3 separate regions of the Homo sapiens genome follow, and regions 1 and 3 are each linked to region 2. The links are contacts of gene promoters, found by promoter capture Hi-C in human tissues and cell types (Jung and others, 2019). All regions are on one chromosome and are shown on one strand. Each heading gives the region's core, a stretch centred on a gene start or on the middle of the fragment in contact. The rest is flanking DNA. Distances are from core to core; before and after follow the strand shown. Region 1 overlaps LOC107983981 (a long non-coding RNA gene). Region 2 holds the start of ONECUT1 (one cut homeobox 1). Region 3 overlaps LOC107983981 (a long non-coding RNA gene).

Evidence for each region. The method cuts DNA at HindIII sites, captures the fragments that hold promoters and counts their contacts. A contact is called where the count stands out against the background at its distance.
Region 1: a contact is called between a fragment that was not itself captured here and the fragment with the promoter of ONECUT1 in region 2, in 2 of the 25 tissues and cell types used here (H1 embryonic stem cells and thymus).
Region 3: a fragment that was not itself captured here is called in contact with the fragment with the promoter of ONECUT1 in region 2 in 3 of the 25 tissues and cell types used here (H1 embryonic stem cells, mesendoderm cells and thymus).

Annotation. Positions count from the first base shown.
Region 1 is chr15:52,920,004-52,924,037 of GRCh38, reverse strand. The region is part of intron 2 of LOC107983981 (a long non-coding RNA gene); the gene reads right to left. Among named protein-coding and RNA genes, the nearest start is that of ONECUT1, 130 kb to the right of the region's middle. The HindIII fragment of the contact is 3,545 bases long and covers 1-3,445 here.
Region 2 is chr15:52,787,496-52,791,591 of GRCh38, reverse strand. It overlaps ONECUT1 (one cut homeobox 1), which reads left to right and starts at 1,256. Exons shown (of 2, transcript NM_004498.4): 1 at 1,256-2,812. The coding sequence starts at 1,708. It overlaps LOC105370824 (a long non-coding RNA gene), which reads right to left and starts at 1,162. Exons shown (of 2, transcript XR_001751550.2): 1 at 1-1,162. RefSeq lists enhancers at 1-200, 201-969, 966-1,260 and a silencer at 1,149-1,218. The HindIII fragment of the contact is 12,558 bases long and covers 1-4,096 here.
Region 3 is chr15:52,971,874-52,975,757 of GRCh38, reverse strand. It overlaps LOC107983981 (a long non-coding RNA gene), which reads right to left. Exons shown (of 6, transcript XR_932257.3): 4 at 1-58. Among named protein-coding and RNA genes, the nearest start is that of LINC02490, 140 kb to the left of the region's middle. The HindIII fragment of the contact is 5,009 bases long and covers 114-3,884 here.

The sequences.
Region 1 (4,034 bases), core at 424-2,923, 130 kb before region 2:
TTCTCAAAGGAAAAAGCCATTCTGCTTTCAACTTGCAGTGCAGGGAGAAGACACCATCCCCGAACCCTGAAATTTAGAACTATGTCATTGCTGATTTTCTGTGCAAGAAGGAAATATGATTCTTTGTTACTGCTCTTATTTATTGCAGACCTTGTCTGGAATCTGGTATTGAAGGCATGCTTGATGAGTTGCCGCCTTGAACTTTCCCACTGATCAATGCCAGCGCTGCTGCTGCATGAAAGAATAGCTTTCCCGAGGAGCCACTATCACATGGAAACCAGCTACCCAGCACGCTTTTTGAAAAATGGGCAAGAGCCTTGTATGCTTAAGCTTCGAAACATGTTCCCACCCCCACCCCCAAAAACTGGCAAATGGTGACTGACCATCTAAAAATTGGAATGTTACAAGAGCAAGAGGTAAGGTCAAAAGCAGAAATCCTCCTTTCTGTAAAATGATCAGACACCATAGGATGAAAACATGCGGGGAAAAGGAAAGCTAATGTGAAGTGAGAGGACAGGAATCATATTTCTTCTCAGCAGGGTGACAAATAAAAAGTTGCCTTTCCTTTTCTGTGCAAATAAACTTTACTTTAGGAATTGTGGCAGTGGTTTGGTCTCCCATAAAATAGGTTTTATCTGCTGCAGTGACAACCTAAGGCAGGGAGGGGTTAGAGGCAGGTTAATTGCCATCGTTTCCATTATTTTTGTCAATATTTTTGTTATTTTGTGGAGAGATTGCAGGGGAAGTCTAGACCAATGCTATCAGGAATGGGGCTAAGAGAAAGGGTTTAATCCAATTCTTGGGCAGTTCGTGTGGAAAGTATGTGTCACTGGAGTAAGCTGGGACAAAAATCCTCAAATATACCCAGGTCGGTCTCTGTAAAAACCCCAGGCTGTCCACACCCTCTACACTTTAGAGGCTTCCCTGAATGGGATGCCCGTGATGAAAACATCCACCAGGAAGAAAGTGGCCTTTGAAAAAGACGTACAATAAGCCGTCCATGGCTGTTGAAAGCCAGTGCTTTCTGGAGGGCCATAACCAACCACCAAAACCTATGAGCAATCGGACCCTCAAACCATGAAACTCCGTCTATCTTAAGAAATGAAACAAGAACAAGATCTGAGCTTCAGTAGGTTAACCTAACTACCTTCACCCACTGTCCATCTTCCTGGGCTTTTCCCAGGCAATAAGTACTTTAACTAATCACTAATCCTGGCTGGGCGTGGTGGCTCATGTCTGTAGTTCCAGCACTTCGGGAGGCCAAGGCAGGAGGGTGGCTTGAGCCCAGGAGTTCAAGACCAGCCTGGGCAACATAGGGAGACCCCCATCTCTACAAAAAAAATAAAAATTAGCTAGGTATGGCGGCATCCACCTGCAGTCCTAGCTACTCAGAAGGCTGAGGCAAGAGGATTTTTTGAGCCTGGGAGGTCTAGGCTGCAGTGAGCTATGATTGTACTACTGCACTCCAGCCTAAGTGGTTGAACAAGACCTTATTTCTAAAAAATAATTAAATAATAAATAGACAAAAATAAAAAATATTACTAATCCCATTGTGAGCCACTTCCATGCCTTATGTATTTTGTCTCCCTCCTCCAGACACTCCTGACACTTGCTGTGTCCTACGGTCATGATTTGTGGGTATGCTGCTCCTTCCTTTCTAGACTTCCAGCTGCTCCATCTATATCTTTTCCCTCTTTGTATCTGCTGTGGCTCCCAGCTCTGAGCTTCATACAGAGTAGACACTCAAACGTTTGTTGAATGACTGATTGAATGAATGAATATAAAGGGCCTCATCCCTAAGTATTACTATCAAAAAGTCACAGCACTATAAAGACACATGCCCATGTTTGTTTATTATATCACTATTTACAATAGCAAAGACTTGGAACCAACGAAAATGCCCATCAGTGATAGATTGGATAAAGAAAATGTGGTACATATACACCATGGAATACTATGCAGCCATGAAAAGAATGGGATCATGTCCTTTGCAGGAACATGAATGAAGCTGGAAGCCATCATTCTCAGCAAAGTAACACAGGAACAGAAAAACCAAATACCGCATGTTCTCACTTGTAAGTGGGAGTTGAACATTGAGAACACATGGACACAGAGAGGGGAAAAACACACGCCAGAGCCTGTTGGGGGTGGGGATTGAGGGGAGGGAACTTAGAGGACAGGTCAATACATGAAGCAAATCACCATGCACACGTATACCTATGTAACAAACCTGCACATTCTGAACATGTATCCTGTTTTTTTTTTTTTAGAAGAAGAAATAAAATAAGAAAAAAATAGTCAGAGCAGAAAATTTCCTCCAGCTCCCATTCCTATTCCAGACTTTCTGGCCCATCTCTAGGCCTCTAGACACACTCAGGCAGGCAGCACCCTGCAAGAGACATTTTGGATTTCTGTCCCTATTCACTAAAACCAGCCAGAAGCTTCTTGCTCCTCCACTCTGCCTGGCTCTTCCTCAAGCTCTGTTTTTCTGAACTTGGAATAATATTGCCACAGCTGCCACAGCTACTAGACCCAAATGGATGGTTAAATTGTGTGGCTCTGTGCTTACCCTGAGCACAATTTTGTACTTACCTTCCAGCTCCCTCCACATCTAGCTGCCACCTCCCCACCTCCCCTGGAATTACGTTCCCCCTAGATGCAGTTCAGGCAGCAGCCCCCTTGACTGATGCTTCCCAGGTCAGATCTGGTCCTGTGCAGCATACAGTGCCTACCACAACCAGAGCCTTCATTTATACCCACAGGCTCAATCCTAGTCAGCAATCGTAGTCCCTAGCCACACCAGCCACCATGGACCAGTGAAGCTTACAGCCACTGTCAGAGAGAACTGCTATATATATCCCAATTCTTACTCCAAGGCTGGGAAGGCAGGTGCTCTGGGAGCAAAGGTAGGGAGTCATAAGTTACAAGAAGATCATGTCCTATTTTTCTTGCAAAGTCACCATAATCAGCATTTGCTGAAGTGGTAAGACTTGGCACCTGCCCATGTGGTACCCAGAACTGAAGAGAATGCATCCATGATGCAATCCCTGACTTCAATGCATAACACCTGTGCATAGTTTGTTCTTGTGTTTGCAAAGTTCCATCAGGCACATTTCCACATTTAATCCAAAGCCCGAAGAGGCAGGTAGGACAGCTCTAGTTGTAGTCCCCTGTTACCCTTGAGAATATGAGGTACTTCCCAGAGAGCACCATACATTACACACACATATTTTTATATGCACATGCTTAGACTGAGACCAACATATATTTGCCAAAAGTAGAATATCTCAATAAATACTGTTGAATGAACAAACTTGTTGGATGTGTTCTCAGGTTCAGACTGAGGCAGTTAGCCCATTTCATGCTAAGCCATTGAAACCTCAGAGCAAGTAATCAAGGATTGCTGCTCCCTCCATGCCAGGGATTCTCAGCAGCAGGGGCAATTTTGCCCCTCACCCAGACCTCCAGGGATATTTGACAATGTCTGGAGAGGCATTTTTGGTTGTCACAACCAAGGGAAATGCTATTGGCATCTAGTGGGTCGAGGCCAGAGATGCTGGTAAACATCCCACAATGCACAAGACAGTCCCTCACACCCACCACAAAGAATCATCCTGCCCAAAATGGCAGTCATGTGGAGGTAGAGAAGCCCTGCTCTATACTCTGCATTTGAGCAGCCACCTCTAATGGACTGCAGTTTATTAGAGGTCCCCATCAATGCACAAAAGAAGGATCCAGGCCATCCTTAGAAAGTATCCTGAAATCTGTGAATGGTATCTTTTTACCCCCAGGTTATGTTGTCTTTATCCTCTCTCCTATCTCCAGAGACACAAAAGGTGGCACACATTAGTCCCTTTCCTTTCCAAAACAAAGTAGCCAAACGACTATGCAGACAGTCTTCAATGCCTGATCCGTGGAGTAGAGGAGAGCCTCAAAAAAGGCTCCTAGGAAAGAAGAGTGGCAGCCCAGGGTCTTCCTGGAAAGGGAAATGCACTCCCTCCCTCCCACAAACTTCCCCTGGCCCTGCAAAAAAA
Region 2 (4,096 bases), core at 7-2,506:
CTTTCTCTGAGGGATGAAAGCACCTAAGCGGACACGGCTCTGCCTTTTGTTGCGGATTTTTTTTCTTTCTTTTGTAAATGAAAGAAAGCCGCGGCATGTGGCGGCCGGGTGTACGTCTCAAACTGGGGGCCTCCGCACACGTCCCCACCAGGCCCAAAGACCAGGTTCGATTCCAGATTGGAGCGTGACTGTGGGAAGGGCGAAATTACTCCCGAAGCTGAATTGATTTTCAAATCTGGAGGCGTCTCTCGGGGACGCCGGGAAAAGGGCGTCCCTAGGGGCCAAGCGGAGACCCGCGCGCCGGCGTCCACCCTGTCTGCGTCAGTACTTCTGGAAAGCAACCGCCTCCGGGTGCTTTAGCAGGAGGGCCTTGGGAGTAACCGCAGGGACGGCCCGAGCCTCCACGGCCCCACCAGCACCCGGAAGTTAACATGGGTACCCTCCAGGGCACTCCCTCCGCTCTCCCTCGCCCCCCTCCACAGGCCGAGTCATCGGCGAAGCGGACGCACAGCCTTAATTATGAGCTGAGCGGGAGAAGGAGCCAGGCGGCGGGGGACAGTGAGGTATGGCCCGAACTGGGATTCTTGGCACTGATTACTCCTCTCCCCAGGGCATGGATGAGAAAGGGTGGGCAAGTATGTATCTGGGAGGACGAAGGGTGCCGGGTCAACGGCCGCCAAACGGACCCAGCCCTTTAAGCAATCTGCACCCCACCCCACCCCAACCCCCATCCCCCAATAGGCCGTGAATTCAAGGGTGGGAAAGCGCACTCCCAGCAGCCCCCCGGGAAATAAAGCTTAGTGGGCTAGAGCCGAAGGGGTGATGACACAGTCCCCAGCTCCCCGGGCAAGCTGCACCGGGAAGCAGCAACTGGAGAGAGAGGGGCGATGTCTCCAAGCACAGCACTCCAGCCGCTAGAAGCCCGACACGAGCGTCCCCGGGCTGGGAGGACAGAGCCCACTCAAGCAAGGGAGGCGAGCGAGCCAGGCGCGAGTCTCCTGGGATTGCAGCGGCGGCCCCAGGTCGCGCTCTGCGCCAATCTTTCGCACGTGCCCGCAGCTCCCTGGCCATCCAGCGCCGCAGGGAAGGCGCTGGGCCCCCTCCTTCATTTGTACCGGGACGCCAAGGGCCTGGCGCGCCGCGACCTAGGGGGCGGGGGCGGGCCTCGCGCATGCGCGCTGCGCCTGGCGGGCGTGAGGGCGGGCCGCTGCGGCGGCGGCGGCGGCGGCTACCGAACCGCGGCCACAGAGTCTGTAACAGTAACAGAGCCATGGCTCAAGCTGGCCAGCGGGGCGGGCAGGCAGCAGACGCGGCAGGCGCGCGGGCCGCGGCAGGGGAGCCGGAGACCTCAGAATTTTAAGAAAGAGAGGGGCGAGAGGTGGCCGAGGCGGGCGGGCTGGGGCACTGCGCTCTCCCAACGGCGCGGATCCTCTTTGGAAATTAATATTAAAAAAAAAAAAGCCGAGGACGCAGAGGGGAAGGTGGGGGGTAAGAGGGAAGGCGAGACACACACACACACACACACGCACACGCACACACGGACACACACACACGGAGAGAGAGAGAGAGAGAGACAGAGCCCCACAGTGAGAGGAAGGAAGGCAACAGTCGCCAGCAGCCGATGTGAAGACCGGACTCCGTGCGCCCCTCGCCGCCTCTGCCTGGCCACATCGATGTTGTGTCCGCCGCCTGCTCGCCCGGATCACGATGAACGCGCAGCTGACCATGGAAGCGATCGGCGAGCTGCACGGGGTGAGCCATGAGCCGGTGCCCGCCCCTGCCGACCTGCTGGGCGGCAGCCCCCACGCGCGCAGCTCCGTGGCGCACCGCGGCAGCCACCTGCCCCCCGCGCACCCGCGCTCCATGGGCATGGCGTCCCTGCTGGACGGCGGCAGCGGCGGCGGAGATTACCACCACCACCACCGGGCCCCTGAGCACAGCCTGGCCGGCCCCCTGCATCCCACCATGACCATGGCCTGCGAGACTCCCCCAGGTATGAGCATGCCCACCACCTACACCACCTTGACCCCTCTGCAGCCGCTGCCTCCCATCTCCACAGTCTCGGACAAGTTCCCCCACCATCACCACCACCACCATCACCACCACCACCCGCACCACCACCAGCGCCTGGCGGGCAACGTGAGCGGTAGCTTCACGCTCATGCGGGATGAGCGCGGGCTGGCCTCCATGAATAACCTCTATACCCCCTACCACAAGGACGTGGCCGGCATGGGCCAGAGCCTCTCGCCCCTCTCCAGCTCCGGTCTGGGCAGCATCCACAACTCCCAGCAAGGGCTCCCCCACTATGCCCACCCGGGGGCCGCCATGCCCACCGACAAGATGCTCACCCCCAACGGCTTCGAAGCCCACCACCCGGCCATGCTCGGCCGCCACGGGGAGCAGCACCTCACGCCCACCTCGGCCGGCATGGTGCCCATCAACGGCCTTCCTCCGCACCATCCCCACGCCCACCTGAACGCCCAGGGCCACGGGCAACTCCTGGGCACAGCCCGGGAGCCCAACCCTTCGGTGACCGGCGCGCAGGTCAGCAATGGAAGTAATTCAGGGCAGATGGAAGAGATCAATACCAAAGAGGTGGCGCAGCGTATCACCACCGAGCTCAAGCGCTACAGCATCCCACAGGCCATCTTCGCGCAGAGGGTGCTCTGCCGCTCCCAGGGGACCCTCTCGGACCTGCTGCGCAACCCCAAACCCTGGAGCAAACTCAAATCCGGCCGGGAGACCTTCCGGAGGATGTGGAAGTGGCTGCAGGAGCCGGAGTTCCAGCGCATGTCCGCGCTCCGCTTAGCAGGTGAGCCGGCCAAGGAGCTGGGCGCGCGGGAGATAAGGTACACGAAAGCCGAAGGGACCAAAGGAGGAAGGGTAGGAGAGAGGGCTGGGTGCGCTTCATCCCGCCCGCCCCTACCCCTAGAAGGGGGACTCCCTGTGCCTGGAAGGGCCAGCACAGGGCTGTGGGAGCAAATTGCCTACTCCAGGGCTCAGGGTGTTGGGCTGTGGAAGGCTCCGAGAGCTAAGCGGCCGGGCCTCGGCGACTGAAGAGGCTCATTTGCGCTCAGGGACAGCGAGGGAAGCTCGTACGGCCTGAGGCGGAGAGAAATCCCCGCACCTGGTGAGACACTCTGCGCCACCTCTCAGTTCAGCGATCCGGGTTTGGGAAGAGGGATGCAACGCGTGCGTGGAATCGCACGCAAATGTTCCTCGCAGGTACCTCTGACACATCCCAGGCGCTGGGCTGGAGCGTGCCGGAGCAGCGTCGATGTTTGGCCGAACTGGCTGCTGTGACCCCCTCCCGCGCTCATTCTTTTGGCGCTGGCTGGGGTGACCTCAATCTAAGAGTATGGGCAAAAAGTTTCAGAGCCATTGGGCGGTGGGTGTGTAGCACAGACGAGTTGTAAGGGTTAGGACGCTCTCTGCGCATGGAATTGGCTGTGGAAAGGAGAGGGAGGCTGACCGTCCCAAGGTCCCAGTGAGAGCTGCAAAGCAATAGCCATGTCCTGGGACCGACTCCGCTGCCGACTCCCTGAGGACTTTGCATTTTGTTTTATTATTCCTCTTCGCGATTTTCGTCTGAATCCCCGTGCGGGAGGGGGGTTTGGGGATGAGAGTGTGTAAATGACCCCCAAGTCTAGGAGCAGAGGTCTCCTGCCCGAAACCCCAAGCCCCAGGTGTTTCTGAGTTCAGCTGGAAGCTCTCCTTGGCGCAGCGCAGACACCGCGCCTGGCTCCCCGAGACCGCGGATAGGCAGAGAAGAAAGCTGAGCCCAGCCCGAACCCCACCGGGGATTTCAGGAGGATTCGGCGACCCTTGAGGGTAGAGAACATGAGGGGAGGTAGAGCTAAGGACAGCGGAGGGTGGCCTGGGTTTGATGAGATCCGGCCGGCGGTTGCCAAGTTGATTGACTCCTGGTCCATGCCCCCTCCCCCCCCACTCCCCCACCCCCCACCTCCACCTCCATCTCAGCCCAGCGCCCAGGCCTGAGCCTTGGCGAAGAGAAAAGGTAAAAGCCGGAATGAGGGTTTGTTAATTAACTGATCGTTCTCCATTAATTCGTCCCTGGAGAACGAGAGACAGTCAA
Region 3 (3,884 bases), core at 1,369-3,868, 180 kb before region 2:
TCTGCTGCAGTGTCTCCAAAAATGATTTTGAGGTTTCTGGACACACTCACAGGGTTATCTGCAGAACAGCAAAAATAGAAAAACTAGTGAGAAGTAGTCACCCTGAAAATCTTTTTACACGCAGAGAGGAACTTCTCCAGCAAGAGAATTCACGACCCAGTGAAGATGAGTCCCATCTAAGGTAGGAACTAGCAGGTTCAGTGTTCACAGCCATGTTCTTCTGACATCTTTAGAGGACTTGAAAGGCTAGTCAGAACATGCTAATCACTCTTACTTCTGTTTCTCTGACTCCTTATTTGTTAAAGACCAGAAGAAAAGAGACTCTTCACTGGGGAGCTAAGAAAGTGGATGACCAGGGCAGAATGCATCAGCAAAGCTGCTAGTGAAGTACCAAGCGTGGATAGTTTCTGCATGTTTTACCACAAAATGTATATATTCAGCATCTGTATATTTGTTTGTTTATTACTGTTAACTTGGTTTTAGATATGGTCAGACACAGATCCCTAAACTGGAATTTTATGGAGAGAGAGACAGAATAAGTAGATGCCAAAACTCTATGTGTGCACCAAATCTGATTGATTAATATATAGATAGATACCTAATTTAAAAAAAAATACAGTCGTGTTCTGTCACCCAGGCTGGAGTGCAGTGGCACTATCTCAGCTCACTGCAATCTCCGCCTCCCAGGTTCAAGTGATTCTTGTGCCTCAGTCTCCCGAGTAGCTGGGATTTTCGTTTTTTGTTTCTTGTTTTTTGTTTTTTTGTAGAAACGTTGTTTCACCATGTTGTCCAGGCTAGTCTTGAGCTCCTGGCCTCAAGTGATCTGCCTGCCTCTGCCTCCCAAAGTGCTGGGATTACAGGCGTGAGCCACTGCGCCCGGTTTAGATGCATAATTTTAAATGCAAATAGGCTATAGTCATCTTCTGATTGCTCTCCAGCTAAGACAAGTCTTTCCAGTTTTCCAAGTCTCCTTCACCTGTCGGCACTATGTAAGTCTGTGTTTTAAGGAGTACAGGCCTAACGCTCTTTTTTTATTGAGAAGCTGCAGAACTCTAACCGGTGGTTCAATAAATTGTATTACATCCCCCTCGCACTGAATGCCCTACACGCTATGGCTTTCCATGTGTAATTGCAAGCTGTTATTAGCCCTGAGCTGTGTCCGTTACTGGCCACACTCTTGCTGAGCGGTCAATTTTTTCCCCTGCCATTTCCTTTGCTCACACCATGCTGACCACGTTGGCCAGAGGCGGCCCGAGGTTTATAGTGCAGCATTGATTTTTCTTTTCTCTCAATACTGACAGAATCATAGATCCAAGGCAAATAAAGAAATGCATTCTGGGGTGATGAAATGTCTTTCATTCAGGCTGGATTGAATCAAAGCCCATCACAGAAATGTAGGGCTCTGAAATGCTAGAGAAGCTCATGCCTCAAATTGTGGAAAAATAAATTTTATGTTTTCTCCACTTTCCTTTGGATTCGTAAATCACTGGGGACACAGATAGTCCAGCCAGTGACCAAACTTGGGCAATGGGGACATTGTAAACAAAGAGTCTCTGTTACCACCTTCATTAATTAGGTTATTGCCTGTAATTCTGTTTTGAAGGATAGTCATTTATTAGCTTAAGTAACACCCAGAGTCTTCCACAGAACTGTCCTACTATAAAAATACTGACTGAGGCTCAGTCTCTTCTAAGAAATGCAAGATAGCAATTCACATAGATTTGTGAAATTCAAGCTCGCTGCCTATTATGGAGGGGCAACAATGACTGACTGCAATAAATTGAGGCAATCTTCTTTCAAATAACTCCAGTTGACACTTGGTGAAGTGTAAATATGACCTTCACTAATTAATTTGGTGATAATCATACCTTGTTTATAGACATTAATCCAAGTTTGATCTTTAGCACACACCAGAGTACATGCTCACAGAGACGGTAAGATAGTCAATGGAAAGACTCCTAGAGCAGGAGGTCAGGAGATCTGAATTTTCATCTTTGCTCTTTTCCATTAACAACAAGCCATTAGCCTGAACACATTACTGTACCTCTCCTGGCTTTGTTACTTCATCTGCAAAATAAAGATTGTAATACTGACTATGGGCGGTTTTGGTGGTTCAGTGGAGTGATGTATGGGAAGTGACTGGTACAGAGCCTGGCACATGTCATTCATTTGTGCCTTGTGAGTGGCTGAGTGCTAACTATGGGTAGGCACCAAGGTAGACACTAAGCATATAACGGTAAATAAAGCTGACTCCTGCCTTTGTGGAGACTATAGCCTGGTGGACATCACATAAGGTGCTGAAAATGACTGCTAGTTTATGATTATTATTATTATTACTTGTAGTGGTGAGTTTTACAAATGAAGGAGGTGGGATGCATGAACTTAGGTCCTTTCCAGCTCTCAGGCCCTTTAATCCATGATCAATAATAACTATCTGTGTGTGTACCTTTTCATGCATATCTGATTATACGTATAATTAGTATGCAGAAATGGTTTGCACTTAAGCAGATCTATCTGCCAAATGGCTTATTCTCTATATCCAAGTTTGGGACCATTCAAAACTCATGTGTATATTTATTTGTTTTCCATTCTGCCTAATTCCAAAAAAAAAATATTAAAGTAGTGTATCTTTTAAAAGCAAATTGAAGTTTCCTAGAATGCACAAAAAATAACCCACATTATTTTAATCTACCTGAACATTAAATCCAGGTCCCCAAAACCTGAAAATATTACAAGTATAGCCATTAAGTTTGACTATTAAAGGTACGTAGAGATACCAAGTATCATCTGTGGTTTCTGGTGATCTTAAAGACTAGACACCTCTCTATGACATTTAAGGTTTTTTCTTGACCCAATCAACATCTTTTAGACATTTAAGTTTTAGAGAGAAGAAACTTTATGTTATTTTAGATTTATCCCAGGTGGCTGGCACATAATAGGTGCTTTATCAATGTGAGTCCACCGGTCAACGAATGTCCTAATCAGTCAGGCAGTCAGGCTCTCTTTTAGGTCCTGGAAAAACCTCTATAATTCCTTGGGCTTTGGAAAACATGAATGCAGGAACCCATGGGAGAGGAGAAATTCCGTAAGTCAGAAATGCCTAGTATCTTCTCTCTGTACCAACTGGGAATAAAGAAGGAAGCAAGACTTTTCATCTTTGCTTCTGACTGACTCTGTCTCAAATTGTCCTCTAGGAAGAATGGCCTCTTTATTTTGTTTGGTTTTTAAATATCAAAAGAATATCTCTTTCAATGTTTATTGACACATAAGCTGGTTTTGAACAGCCTTTACCATTTTTCTGAATTTGGACAGTGACAGGTCACCCCTTTGAACATCTGTTTGATTTTCTACATATAACATAATTCCAATGACTGACGTAGAATTATAAGCTTAAATTACATGCTTATAAAATGCTAATATGTATAACATGTACTTCTTCTGTTTTTTAGATGATCTAGTCAATTATAAAAGCCATTACTCACACAAGGTACATATGTCAATTTAGCACCGTTCTTAATTCCAGACTCTACTATTCTTAGGTAATTTATGTAAAGTATATATTATAATCACTTAAGCCAGGATATACTCTGCTCAGTTCTACCTTTGGCCCTGAGGAATGTGCATTCAACAAGCATTTTCTAAGCACCCAGGACATGTCAGGGTCTGGATCTCTGCCTTCCTGGAGATCCCTGGGGAGACAAATGCAGCAAAAATTCAAGATTCAGCCAGTGGGGGCCATGATAGAGGACGTGCCCAAGGATGTGGAGGCCTAAGGTACAGTTTGCATCTGGAGTGAGAGGCATGGGCCAGAAAAGGCTTCCCAGGCATTTCTGAGATGAGATTTGAAGGAAGAATAGGACCAAGGGGCAAAGGAACTTGAAGCA